2 separate regions of the Homo sapiens genome follow, and region 1 is linked to region 2. Evidence: promoter capture Hi-C in human tissues and cell types (Jung and others, 2019). All regions are on one chromosome and are shown on one strand. Each heading gives the region's core, a stretch centred on a gene start or on the middle of the fragment in contact. The rest is flanking DNA. Distances are from core to core; before and after follow the strand shown. Region 1 has its middle 52 kb from the start of SH2D6. Region 2 holds the start of SH2D6 (SH2 domain containing 6).

What was found. The method cuts DNA at HindIII sites, captures the fragments that hold promoters and counts their contacts. A contact is called where the count stands out against the background at its distance.
Region 1: a contact is called between a fragment that was not itself captured here and the fragment with the promoter of SH2D6 in region 2, in 1 of the 25 tissues and cell types used here (liver).

What each region holds. Positions count from the first base shown.
Region 1 is chr2:85,467,230-85,473,745 of GRCh38, reverse strand. No RefSeq gene overlaps it. Among named protein-coding and RNA genes, the nearest start is that of SH2D6, 52 kb to the right of the region's middle. The HindIII fragment of the contact is 3,746 bases long and covers 1,806-5,551 here.
Region 2 is chr2:85,414,180-85,421,479 of GRCh38, reverse strand. SH2D6 (SH2 domain containing 6) reads right to left here and starts at 2,766. Exons shown (of 24, transcript NM_001394463.1): 1 at 2,550-2,766; 2 at 2,236-2,451. LOC105374841 (a long non-coding RNA gene) reads right to left here. Exons shown (of 3, transcript XR_940316.3): 2 at 6,510-6,681; 3 at 4,519-5,386. It also overlaps a transcript of CAPG not described here. RefSeq lists enhancers at 768-917, 3,146-3,305, 2,784-3,319, 3,316-3,425. The HindIII fragment of the contact is 13,378 bases long and covers 1-7,300 here.

The DNA.
Region 1 (6,516 bases), core at 2,429-4,928, 51 kb before region 2:
CAGGGAATTCAAGTTCCTGAGACCTTTGCACATGGGCCTCTGCCCACATTGCAGTGAGAGAGAAGGTATGAAGTCTCAGGCTGGTTTCTTGGAGTTCCCCATTCTCTTCACACTCGGGGTGATGGAACCCAGAGACAAGACAAGGTCTGGGCTCATCTCTTGGGCAGGGTAACACCTGCATGTTCACACATCAGTTGCTCTTGTCTTGTCTGGCGGGGGCCCGATTGGCAGCTTGGCTAGACTCCTGCCTAGAAATGGGATGGAATGGGAATAGGCCAGGACTTGTCACTTACTCCCACTAGAGCCCTTTCTCCAAATCTTTATATTCCCTCTTTTACCATAGGTAGCTTGTGAAAGTTACTTCAATACCTTTCCTATGGAAAACAGTAATCTTAGTTTCCCATGCTTCTTCCAGAGGCCTTGGAGTATTGGGCATTTTGTAAGGAAATTTGTACCGAGGCAGGGCTGGGTATGGTGAAGGGGCTGGGATCAGGACCTAGGCTTCCTTGGCCAACTGTTTTAACCAAGTAAGGTAAGAATGATCAATACCAGGTGGCCTATGAAAACTGGAGGCCGCCCCCCACCCCACCAAAGATTTCAGTTGAGGAGAAAGAGCTATAAAGCCATATGAGCTATATTTTAATAAAACATGAGCTTTATAGATAATAAGCTTAGGAAGATTTAGTTGGGTGAATTCCTAATAATACTTCCTCCAAGTTCTACGCCAGCTTTTGTTCTCAAATGCCAGGTGTGAATTTCTCAATGTAATGTCTTTATGAAACATGGCAAGTTTAAACATAACCATTCCACTACTGCTCTCCTCTGAATTCTGTTTTATGTTTTCAGAATGGTTAAAAACAAAGGAAGAATCTTTAAAAAAGTGTTTGTTAATCTCTCAATAACTTTCTACTTAATAGCTAGGAACTCGACCAAGCTATGTGATCTTTATAAAACCTTAGACTACTTGAGAGCTGGTAAGAAGATAAAGTTCAACAGATGTGAGTTTGGATTAGCTGGTGACCTAAAGGTTGGTAAGCTATTTAACATCTCTAAGCCTTTCTGTCCTCACTTGTAAAGGGGAATACGAAATTTATTCAGTAAATACGTTTTGAATGCTTGCCACATACCAGGCCCTGTTGTAGGCACCAGGGATACAAGGATAAACAAGACGAGCTTCCCGCTCTCATGGAACTGATCACAGAACATGAATATTCAACAAGAAATTACATAATTAATTGTAGTTTATGCCAACTGCAATAACAGCACCTACCCCAGCAGACGTTGTGAGGATTAAATGAGTCAATGTGCAGTCAGACACATTCAAAACTGTTGTCATAATACTATTTATAAAATCACATGGGCAATAGAGTCTTGCTAACAGTCCTAAATAGTATAAATGCATGTTGGGTATTAGATCCTCTTTTGTTTTTCACATATATTTAAATGGCAACTTGGTTGTGGGTCCCTTATAACAAATAGGAAGGCATGCTTTCCCTTGATGTTGGAGACACGGTCTTACCAACCTAAGGAAGGATGAAGCTGAACTTGTTTATTGCTGTCAAAAAGAGCAGTTCAGGCTGGGGGTACTGGCTCACACCTGTAATTCCAGCACTCTGGGAGGCTGAGGAGAGTGGATCACATGAGGTCACAAGTTCGAGACCAGCCTGGCCAACATGGTGAAAATACAAAAAATTAGCTAGGCGTGGTGGCAGGCATCTGTAATCCCAGCTACTCCGGAGACTGAGGCAGGAGAATTGCTTGAACCCGGGAGGTGGAGGTTGCAGTGAGCCAAGATCGCGCCACTGCACTCCAGCCTGGGTGGATGACAAGAGCGAAACTCCATCTCAAAAAAAAAAAAAAAAAAAAAGAACAATTTAGCATTGCCATTAACTGGATCAGCAATGCCTAACCCGTAAGTCTTGAGTCCTAGGGGAGTGGGGGGTTAGGGCACAGAGTCTTTGCCAAATGTTCCTAAATCCTTACATGTCCTAAGTATTGTCTGTAGAATGAAAATATCTTTTGCCTACATATGGACATTGTCATAATCTATGTAGCTGCTGATGGGATGAATACAGTATAGCTTCCTTTAAATGAGTCACTGAAGTTTTACTGTGCCCAGCATTTTTTCATTATGTATTTTCTCAGTCAAATCTTATCCTGGGCAGGCTGCAGTGGCTCATACCTGTAATCCCAGTACTGTGGGAGGTAGAAGCAGGAGGATTGCTTGAGACCAGGAGTTTGAGACTAGACTGGGCACTCAGTGAGACCCTATCTTTACAAAACAATATTAATAAAAAATAAACCAGACGTGGGGGCATGCACCTGTGGTCCCAGCTATTCGAGAAGCTGAGGCTGGAGGATCACTTGAGCCCAGGAGGCAGAGGCTGCAGTGAGCTACGATTGCACCACTGCACTTCAGCCTGGGTGACCGAGCAAGACTCTATCAGAAAAAAAAAAAAATTATCCTGCCTTTTCCTGGCTGAAACCCTTTAACAGTTCCTCATTTGTCTCAGGATAAAGTCCAAATTCCCTCCCAGGCACAACAAGACTCTGTTGACCTTTCCTGGCATAGTGCCTGCCCCACCTCCCTCCCACCCCCATCCCACCCCCATCCATCAAGTTCTGACATGAAGCCTCTTCCAGGCCGTGGCATAGAGCCCTGGGGCCCAATTCACATATGCGGGCATCAACAGACCCAGAGCTCCTGAATAGGAGAAATACCCACAGCTCTAGCAGGTGTCATGCCAGCTGAGGTGGCACCAGTCCACTGGGGCACCGGATGCGGGTGGGCCTCCCCTCACAGTAACTTCTTCCTCCAGTTGCCGTTGTATCAACCCTGCCTCGCCGCTGCCCCACCACCACTCCACAAGCCAGTTTCTGAATTAAAGCCATTTTCCTTTCAGGGGTTTTAAAAATAAGCAATCCTGGAAGTAATAAAGCTTCTTGATTATCAGTTTTCCATGGACTCGCTTTCTTCAGTGTTATTTGGAAACCCAAGGTCCATAATGCCAGTGCCTTCACAGGCTGTGTATGTGAATTATTTACCCCCTGGAGAAAGTCATAGACAGCTGCAGCGAGGGAGTGATAAAAGTATTTTTTGGCCGGGCACGGTGGCTCACACCTGTGATTCCAGCACTTTGGGAGGCCAAGATGGGCGGATCACCTGAGATCAGGAGTTCGAGACCAGCCTGGCCAACATGGCAAAACCCTGTCTCTACTAACGATACAAAAATTAGCCGGGCATGGTGGCAGGCACCTGTAATCCCAGCTCCTTGGGAGTCTGAGATAGGAGAATCGCTTGAACCCGGGACGTGGAGGTTGCAGTGAGCCAAGATCATGGCCACCGCACTCCAGCCTGGGTGACAAGAGCAAAACTCCATTTCAAAAACAAACAAGCAAACCAAAAAATGCCGGGCACAGTGGCTCACAACTGTAATCCCTGCCCTTTGGGAGTCTGAGGTGGGCAGATCACTTGAAGTCAGGAGTTCAAGACCAGCCTGGCCAACATGGTGAAACCCCGTCTCTACTAAAAATACAAAAATCAGCTGGGCGTGGTGGCAGGAGCCTATAATCCCAGCTACCTGGGAGGCTGAGGCACGAGAATCACTTGAACCCGAGAAGCAGAGGTTGCAGTGAGCTGAGATGACACCACTGCACTCTAGCTTGGGCGACAGAACAAAACACTGTCTCAAAAAAAAAAAAAGTAGTTTATTTTTTACTCTTCTCCTCACCTTAAAACTCTCCAAAAATGAAAAAGAGAAACAACTCCATCTTTTAAAAGATGAGGAAAAAAGAGAGTAATCACTCCAGTTATTAGTTTGAAATATTGTTCCAACAAAAGAATATACTTAACATGTATGTAGTTTCACTAATAACAAAAATGAAAACATGTACCTATTAACCAGCTTTAAGAAAATAGAAGCCGGGCTTGGTGGTGTGCTCCTGTAGTTCCAGCTACTTGGGAGGCTGAGGTGGGAGGATCCCTTAAGTCTGGGAGTTCAAGGCCAGCTTGAGCAACATAGCAACACCCTGTCTCAAAATAAAAGAAAATGGAATTTAACTGGTGACTTTGAAGACTGCTTTGTGCCCCTCCTCAGTCACCTCTTCCTCTCCCTCCTGTGATAACCACCATCCTGAATTTGACTTAATAATAATTCCCTTCTTTTCCTGAGTGTTATTCTTCGTGTATATTTTCCCACACAATATGTTTCAGTTCCAGGGAACTTTTGCATTTTATATAAATGAAATCATTCAGTCAAGTATATAGTCTTCTGTGACTAACTTTTTTCACTTAACTGTGTTTTTAAGACTCAACTGCGGCCGGGTGTGATGGCACGCTGCCTGTAATCCCAGCACTTTGAGAGGCCGAGGCAGGCAGATCACTTGACATCAGGAGTTCAAGACCAGCCTGGCCAATGTGGTGAAATTCCATCTCTACCAAAAATACAAAAATTAGCCGGGCATGGTGGCGTGCACTTGTTATCGCAGCTACTCGGGAGGCTGATGCAGGAGAATCGATTGTTACAGTGAGCCGAGATTGCGTCACTGCACTCCAGCCTGGAGGACAGAGTGAGACTCTGCCCCCCCCACACACACACATACACACACACCCAACTACTACCATGTGCAGTGATAGTTTCACTCATTTTCACTGAAGAATTGTGTTCGATGATATGAGTATGTGACGTATTTACTCATCCTCCTGGTGACAGTCATTTGCATGTTTTCAGCTTTTTGCTATTACAGACAGTGCTGAACATTCCTGTACCTGTCTTTAGCTTCAAAGGCTAGGTGGCGGCACAATTCCAAACTGCCACGTATAGATAAGGGCACTGCTCTGGAAGGCCCAACTTAACGATCCATTGTTTAGAACCACAAAAGGCAAGCAGCTGGAATGACTCCAGAGAAGTCAGCTCCACCCTGCAGGCTGCAGGGAGTGGGAGAGGTGGAACTAACAGAGAAGTTATGTGTAGATCCATGTTAACCATCTATGTCTCAGCCTCCCAGCTGAGAAAACTGCTGCTGGAGAGGGAGCCAGAGGAGAGGGCCTGAGGGAACAGCAATCATTAGAAAGTCTATCTTAGAGTCTGTTGCTACACTGCCCTCCTACATCCTGAAAAGAAGGGATATGGCCCAAGACAGAGGAGAAAACACATTTGGTGATAGGTTGTTTGAAAAAAAAAGTCAGCTGAAAACTGTGGTCTGTTCCAGGTCACTTGCCTCATCTTTCTCTAGATTAATTTTTAACCAATAACTGGTCTCTTTCAAAGATGAGCAATGATCAGAAAGACCTTTGTATAATTAATGCAACTTCCAGTTAAACGAGGTGGTATTTTTATCCTCCCCCACCCAAAACCCTACTGAAAGGCCAGTGAAGGAATAGAAAGGGCCTATCCTCACCGTCACCCACGTGAGTCAGGAAACATCAGTAGCTGAGAGAAGCAACTAAGGTAGCAAAGCGCAGGAAGATATGGTTTGACACGTCTGCAGACTCCATGAAGGCACCAGAGACTGTGTGTAAGGTGGGGGTGGAAACAGCTGAATATTGAATTGCTAGATCATAGGCCCCTTCCTCCCCTCCTTAAAGCCAGGGTGACCACCAGCCTGAGCAGGAAACTGGGGATTCGGGCCTCGAAGGAACTAAATCCGAAAGGCTCTTGACTTGGGGACACAGACCTTAAGGGGGCCAGTAAATTATGTGGAATTAGAAACACAGGGATTAAGAGGAGGTCTGGCTGGGCACGGTGGCTCAAGCCTGTAATTCCAGCACTTTGGGAGGCCTAGGTGTGCAGATCACTTGAGGTCAGGAGTTCGAGACCAGCCTGACCAACAGTACAACCCCATCTCTACTAAAAATACAAAAATTAGCTGGGCGTGGTGCCACATGCCGGTGGTCCCAGCTACTTGGGAGGCTGAGGCAGGAGAATGGCTTGAGCCTGGGAGGCAGAGGTTGCGGTGAACCAAGGTCGCACCACTGCACTCCAGTCTGGGCAACAGAGTGAGACTCTGTCTCAAAAAAATTAAAATGAAAATGAAAATTGTGCAGCAGTTTGACTCCAATGATAAATTACTGTAAACAACAGAAATGTCCATGAATAGGGGATCGGATTAAACAAAATGTGATATATTGTGCCAATGGAATGCTACTTAAATAATGTGAGAGTAGTATATTTGATGACATAAAAACATGCATGGCATGTATGACATGAAGAAAGCAGATTACAAAATAGCATGTCAGACCAGGCACTCTGACTCACGCCTGTAATCCCAGCACTTTGGGAAGCTGAGGCAGGTGAATCGCTTGAGGTCAGGAGGTAGAGACCAGCCTGGCCAACATGGCAAAACCCCATCTCTACTAAAAATACAAGAATTAGCTGGGTGTGGTGGTGTGTGCCTGCAATCCCAGCTGCTCAGAAGACTGAGACATGAGAATTGCTTGAACCTGGGAGGCGCAGATTGCAGTGAGCCGAGATGGTGCCACTGCACTCCAGGCTGGGCAACAGAGTGAGACTCTGT
Region 2 (7,300 bases), core at 1,517-4,016:
CAAAGCCTGCCTCTCTGCAAACATCTTTGGTCTCTCTTCTCTGAAAGGCCCGTGTCTTGCCCATTTCCTGTCCATATGTCTTCGACTACCGGGCCTAGGCTGAGGCACAATCCCCCGAGGTCCCGGCTGTTTATCTGCTGAAAACCTTTTTCCCCAGCGCAGATGGATCACCAAGGACTCCCTCACACTCACTTTCTCTGGTTCTCTGGATACCTCTGGCCGACCTTCCCCACCCCACTGGGTCCTTTCCTCAATTTGCCTTCCTTAGCGGGAGCGGCCGGCGTCTGTTCCTCCCCTACACTCTCCCTCCTCCACCAAATGTAACATGGCCCTGCTTAGGCTTCCTTCTTCAGCACAGAGCCTGGGAGCCAAGCTTCTCCTGTTCCCAGCTGGTCTTCTACCCTCCCCGTTAGGAGAGACTGGACACAGTGGCTCCCCGACGTCTCCAACCCCACCTCCTTCCTTGATGGGCCTGGAGGGCCCTGAGATCACCCTCCCTCCCTTTTACCAACAGAAAAGCCGAGGCCAGAGAAGAATGGATGCTGGCCAAGGCCATATGATGTACACAGAGCCAAAGCCACAGTCCCCTCACCCCGTCCCGGGCCACTGTGGGGACCTAAGCAGTCGTTCCACGGGAGAGGGCGACCCCTGGTGGTGAGGAGGGGCATGGCAGCCTGTCGCTCATTTCCTGGGCCCGGAGGCTGACGGTGGAAGGGGCGTGGCCTGGAGGACCACCGACCCAGGCTTTAGTTATCAGGAAGGTAAATGAAGGCAAGGCCCGCAGAGCGAAAGAACGTGGGAAGTTAGGACAAGTTTTGCTGGGCTTTGCCCTTCCTTAGCCACATTCCCTGTAATGACCTAACAACACTGCTCTGTGACTTTAACTGCACCCTGCTGATTGCTGGTTGGATCTTCAGGGAGCAGGAATGGGCATTCAACAGCTTTTGGCACACTGCATGTCCCAAGGGTCATTACTGACTTGAGGGTCTGGTGCGAAGCCCTGGAATGCAGAAGCTCACATTCTGATAATAAGATTTCTAATAATAAGAGAATGGGCTCAGTCCGGGCACGGTGGCTCATGCCTGTAATCCCGGCACTTTGGGAGGCCAAGGTGGGCTGATCACCTGAGGTCAGGAGTTCGAGACCAGCCTGGCCAACATGGTGAAACCCCGTCTCTACTAAAAATACGAAAATTAGCCAGGCGTGGTAGTGTGCGCCTGTGATCCCATAATCCCAGCTACTGAGGCTGAGGCAGGCTGAGGCAGGAGAACCGCTTAAGCCCGGGAGGCAGAGGTTGCAGTGGACCGAGATTGCGCCACTGCACTCCAGCCTGGGAGACAGAGCGAGACTCTGTCTCAGGAAACAAACAAACAAACAAACAAACAAAACAGAACGGGCTCTTATTAAAGAGTCCAGGGACTGAGTCAATAGCTGTCTCCAAGTTTCTATGGTACCTATCTCTCCTCTCTAGGGGCAAAAGGGCTACTCAACAAAAGGCTGATTGTTTTAACAGAAACACTCAGAAAACCAAACCTTTGAGAACTTCCCAGGCAGAAATAGGCATGCTTAGAGACCACGCGACCAGTTAATATGAACCCCACATCTGCTATCAAGAGAATCTGGGCAATCTACTTTGAATATCCCTTTTGGAGCTGTTTCTAGGTGTTTAGAGATCAAATGAAATATTTCTAGGAAGTAGCTCGCCTCGAACTAACCACACAAGAATGAAATCTCACTGACTTACAAGGTCATGGCTAAACCTTCATTGACTAGGTATTTTCCTCCTTCCTTGATGATCCAGTATGTAGCAGTATATGCCCAGATCAGGAAGTGTAAAAGCTGAAAATGGAGTTGGAGACAGAAAGTCCAATGTGTTGCTGGCCACTGTGGTGTCACTGCTCCCGATACAGGTGTAACCTGAGTCTCCCGCTTGGGAGCCAGAAATCAGCTGAGAAGAGGCCTCTGGAAAGAGGCTGCCCTGGCCCAGAAGGGTGGATGAAGTAGGGCCTCAGCACAGCTCATCCTACCGAGCAGGCCGGACCCTGAGTTCCTGGCTTGCACTGAAGGGTCTGGGTAAGTCCCTTCTGTAGCGCCTCAGAAGCTCCTTGGGCAACCTGGGAAGTTAGGACAAGAGCTCTGACATTTGACCCTGAGGTGTGAGGAGAGTGCTTTGAGAGAGAGGATGCTGAATGCGAGCGCCCTGGTTATTACCTCCTGGCAGCCTCCTAACCTCACCTTGACTCTGCCATGTAAAATTGATGCCTGGGCGCAGGGCGCCGACGATGGTCAGATACCGCGGCCTGCACACCCTGGGACCTACATCCCTGACCTGGAGGACCCAGGCCTTCCCCGGGCTTCACCACGAGTCCTGCCGGCCACACAGGGACCCTAACAGACCTAGTCCAGTCTCAGGGTCTGGGCTGCTCCTCCTTCCAGGAATGGGAGTTTGCTCTAGGCGATGGAGGAAGGGTTCAGGAGGCCACTCTGCCTGCTTAGCAGGCTGTGGGCCCAACCCCCCACCCACCATCTTCATCTCCCACGGCCCCAACCTCGTAGGGAGGGCAGGGCGGGGCTCAGGTTCGCAGAGAAGGAGGGCTCGGACCAGCGACTCCAGGGCAGAGGGGCGCGTGCAGGGGTGGGGAGCTGGGTTTGCGAGGAGAGAAGGCCATCTCTTCCCCAGCAGGGTAGCCCCCACCTAGCTACCGGGATCCCACCCTGGCTGGCGCAATCTTTGCGTCCGGATCAGCACCCAAGGCCCCGCCCAACGGCCCGCTGCCTGCCGGGATTTGTAGTTTGTAGGGGAGGGGCCAAAAGGCGCGCGCGCGCGCGTGTGTGTGTGTGCGTGTGTGACTGTGTGTTTGTGAGACTGTGTGTGTAAGTGTGTCCGGGGGTCTGTTGTGGTGCTCCCGTCCCCGAGGGCCCTCCGGACCTGGGCTCAGCAAAGGCACCACAGGCCGCAGCTTCCGAGACCCCGCCCCGCGGCCCACTGCCTGCTGGGATTTGTAGTTCTTAGGGGTCTAGGGCCCAGGCTGGGGCCGGGTTGGGGCCTTACACGCGTCCTGGCGTGTGGCTCTCCTGCGTCCTCGTTTTTCTCGTGAGCCCTGGATCTGGACAGTGGGCCCGGCGCGAGGCCCTCAACTCCGGCTGGGCTCCCGGTGGCACTTTCTGCCGACCCTGAGATGTACCCGCCACGCCTGCGGGACTGACCTCTAGGTGGGCAAACCGAGGCACAAAGAGGGGCGCGCTCTGGCCGGAGTCGGCCCTCTTGTGAGAATTTGGGCTGGGAGACCCAGCCCAGGCCTGGCAGGCAAGGCTGGGTCAGGCGAGGGTCCTGGGCCCTTTCGGTGTAAGAGTGTGCAAAATAATGAACAGGCCTGCCCAGGACTGGCTCTGCACATTAGCGCTAGTTACCTTACAGGCTTGACTGATCAGATTTTTATTTGGCACCACTACAGAGGGGAGCCCAGGGAGGGAGGAAGTCTCTCGTGACCAAGAAAACCTATGGTCCACCCTGGCCTACAACTCTGCTTTAACGACAAAAATAAACCGAGTTTGGGAGGGGGTGAGGAGGAGGGGTGTTTTGTAAACTGTGAAGTCCAGGTTATGAGTGAGGTGTTATTATCATCAGGATCAGACCTCAAAGCACTGGAGGAAAGGTCTGGGCCTTCAAGAGCCTCACCTCAAAAGGGAGGGTATGGCCGGGCGCAGTGGCTCACGCCTGTAATCCTAGCATTTTGGGAGGCTGAGGCAAGCAGATCACCTGAGGTCAGGGGTTCAAGACCAGCCTGGCCAACATGTCGAAACCCCATCTCTACTAAAAATAGAAAAAATTACCCGGGCGTGGTGGCACGTGCCTGTAATCCCAGCTACTCGGGAGGCTGAGGCAGGAGAATTGCTTGAACTCAGGAGGCGGAGTTTGCAGTGAGCCGAGATGGTGCCACTGCACTCCAGCCTGGGCAACAGAGCCAGACTCTGTCTCAAAAAAAAAAAAAAAAAAAAAAAGAGCTGAGATAGCTGTTTGCATGTGAAAGGACTCACAACTGGCACTAGCATGCGGTGATAGTGGGGAGGGCATGGACTCCCACTACATGGCTCCCATCTATCCTCTGCCGCTTACTAAGTGGGACCTAGAACAAGTGATTTTGACCTACTTTATCTCTCTTTATCTCTGTTTCCTCATCTGTCAAAGGAGGATAATAAGAGGATCCATGTTAGAGAGTAAATGCAAGGATTAAATGAGAAAATCATATCAAGGATAGCACCTGGCATATAGTGGCAGCACACAATAGTGTTAGCTGTTATGGTGTTGAGTACCCAGTGTGACGCTGGCTGTACAGGGGTAAACTTGTCTTCTGGGGGACTAGTCCCCCCATCCCAGGCACCTGGTGCCCTCCCCAGGCCACTCATGCTGTACTGGACAGTCCCACTTTCCCAAGAAGTCACAAGGAATTCCAGCATGTCACTGTTCTGGTTGCCCCTGAGCACCTAGCAGTGATTTAAGAAAAGGCAAAACCAAAGTTTTGGTTTTGAGCTTTATTCGGAAAATATGGCCACCCAGACCCCTGGCCATTCCCCAGGGCCTGTGAGGTGATCCAGAAAAATTCATTTGCAAATCAAATTTAATGGCTAGAAGCATCCTGAATCAATGTCTTCAAATAAATATTTGGGGCCGGTGAGGTGGCTCACACCTGTAATCCCAACACTTTGGGAGGCCGAGGCAGGCAGATCACCTGAGGTCAGGAGTTCGAGACTAGCCTGGCCGAAATGATGAAACCCTGTCTCTACTAAAAATACAAAAAAATTAGCTGGCATAGTGGCGTGCGCCTGTAGTCCCAGATATTCGGGAGGCTGAGGCAGGAGAATCACTTGAACCGGCGGGGGGGAAGGTTGCAGTGAGCTGAGATTGTGCCATTGCACTCCAGCTTGGGCGACAAGAGTGAGACTCTGTCTCGAAAAAAGAAAAAAAAAGGAATATTTGGGGGAATTTTGATGTTAGAATTGAGCATTGCAAAAGATCCCTGTCAGTCCCCCGTGATGAGGAAATGCAACTGCTCAGCCTGAGCTGTGCCTCTCGGTTGGAGTTAGAGGAGCCAGAAGGGACCCTTCGAGTCTAGTGCTTTCATTCACAGATGGGAAACTGAGGCCCAGAGAGGGCCACATGGCAGGGTAGTTAGAAGACAGGTCGAGAACTTGCTAGGAAGAATCTTTTGCAATTTCAGAACTTCTCAGCACTGGAAATGAGTCCATACCCCGAGTTTATGGGCACAGAAGCAGAAAGCTGATTGTCCTGGACATCCCCAGACCTTGGCCAGAGTCCAAGCAGCTAAGCCCAGAAGCCAGTGTCCAGTGCTTCTCTCTCCTGGGTTTCTTCAGCCAGGTGTTCATCCTAGAAGTAGGAGTTTATTAATAATGGTGATGGTATCTTGCATTGTCCAGGCCTTCATTCTTTTTGCGGATCCTCCCGGCTGGGCACAGTGGCTCACTCCTGTAATCCCAGCACTTTGGGAGGCCGAGGAAGGAGGATCACTTGAGCTCAGGAGTTCAAGGCTGCAGGGAGCTATGATCATGCCACTGCACTCCAGAGCCTAGGTGACAGAGTGAGACCCTGTCTCTTAAAAAAAAAGAAAAAAGAAAAAAAGCAGCCTTTCATTGAATCCTCACAACCTTCCAAGGTAGGAGGACTGGGGCTTCTGTTCTCGTTTCACAGATGAGGAATCTGTGGCTAGGAAGTCTTAAGGGATTATCCCGAGGCAACAGAATCTGGGCAGTATTAGAATGTGGGGGTTTTGCTGTCTAATCTGTTAATGCATTCAGTAAAAATTTTTTTGAGTGCCTATTACCTGCTGGGCGCTATGCAGGGTGCTGGGATTGCAAGGATGACTTGACACGGTCCCTGGCTAGAGGTGCTAACATTATGGTGGAGGAAGCACATGGTGGGGAGGGAACTTTCTGGTGTGATAGAAGTGTTTTATATCTTGGTAGGGATGTGGGTTACATGGGTGTTGCATCTGTCAAAACTGATTTAAATGTACACATGATTTGTGCATTTCACTATAAATTTGACCTAAGCAAAACAAAACAAAAACTGAATGCTCTGGAAGGACTATGCCTGGGCACAACCTTGGAGAGGCCTAGTTGTCTGGAAGCAGGCCAGGTTGCCCATGGATCCAAATCCACTTTTGCTATCGGGTGTGCCTGAGAAGTGTTCCCATGGGCGTGTAGATGCAGGTGGCCCAGTGGCTTGATGTCCAGAATACCTGGGGAGCACTGCAGAGGGAGTTTCAGAGGAGGGATATTTAAGCTGAGTCTGCAGAGTGAGCAGAGTTGGTCAAAGGAAGGCAGATAGTAGGCAGCGGGAGGTGGTTTCCGAGGACTCCTTGCTGGAGTGTGCTTGTCTGAGGTCACCCAGATAGAAAGATTGTTTCCTTACCCCAGGCCCCACCCATGGACTTCAGAGAAACTCATTCTGGTTGGGATTTTCGAAGCTGCCTCCCACAAAAGGATCTTACCACTGTGTCACAAGGCCATGGCCTGATCCTCATGCTCTTTGTCAACTGACATCTCTCATGGGTTGGCTATGCCACATTCAGGAGCCAAGGCGGAAGTGTGGACCCATCGCTGTCCAACACATTTCCAGAAGGCCTGGCCTCCTGGTGCAGATGCTTGCTGGCCTGTTTTCCTCTGAATAAAGAAGAGAAGGGTCAGGTGTTGCAGGTCAGATCAGCCTGGGTTAGAATCCTGGTTCAGCAGTTGGGTGCGGTGGCTCATGCCTATAATGCCAGCACTTTGGGAGGCCAAAGCAGGAGGATCACTTGAGCCCAGGAGTTTGAGACCAACCTGGGCAATAGAGTGAGACACAGTCTCTCCAAAAAAAAAAAAAAGTTTAGCTGGGCGTGGTGGCATATGCCTGCAGTCCCAGCTACTCAGGAGGCTGAGGCTGGAGGATTGCTTGAGCCTGGGAGGTTGAGGCTGTAGTGAGCTGTGATCACAGCACCGCACTCCAGGTGCCGCGACAGAGTGAGACCCTGTCTCAAAAAAAAAAAAAAAAATCTTAGTTCTGCTACTGAACTAGCAATGTGACACTCTGGACAAGTTAGTTACCCTCTCTGAGCCTCCCAAAGACTTCATGTTTCCAGCAGGAATAATGATAGTAGATGTGAGGACGCACCAAGCACATAGTAGGCTCTCACAGAACAGTAGCTGTTCACAGGGTGATTGAGGCCGGGGGCCTAACGATTGAATGGAAGTGAACACTGCAATTCTCTCGCAAAGTTTACAGCACAGTAAGCTTGTCCTTAGC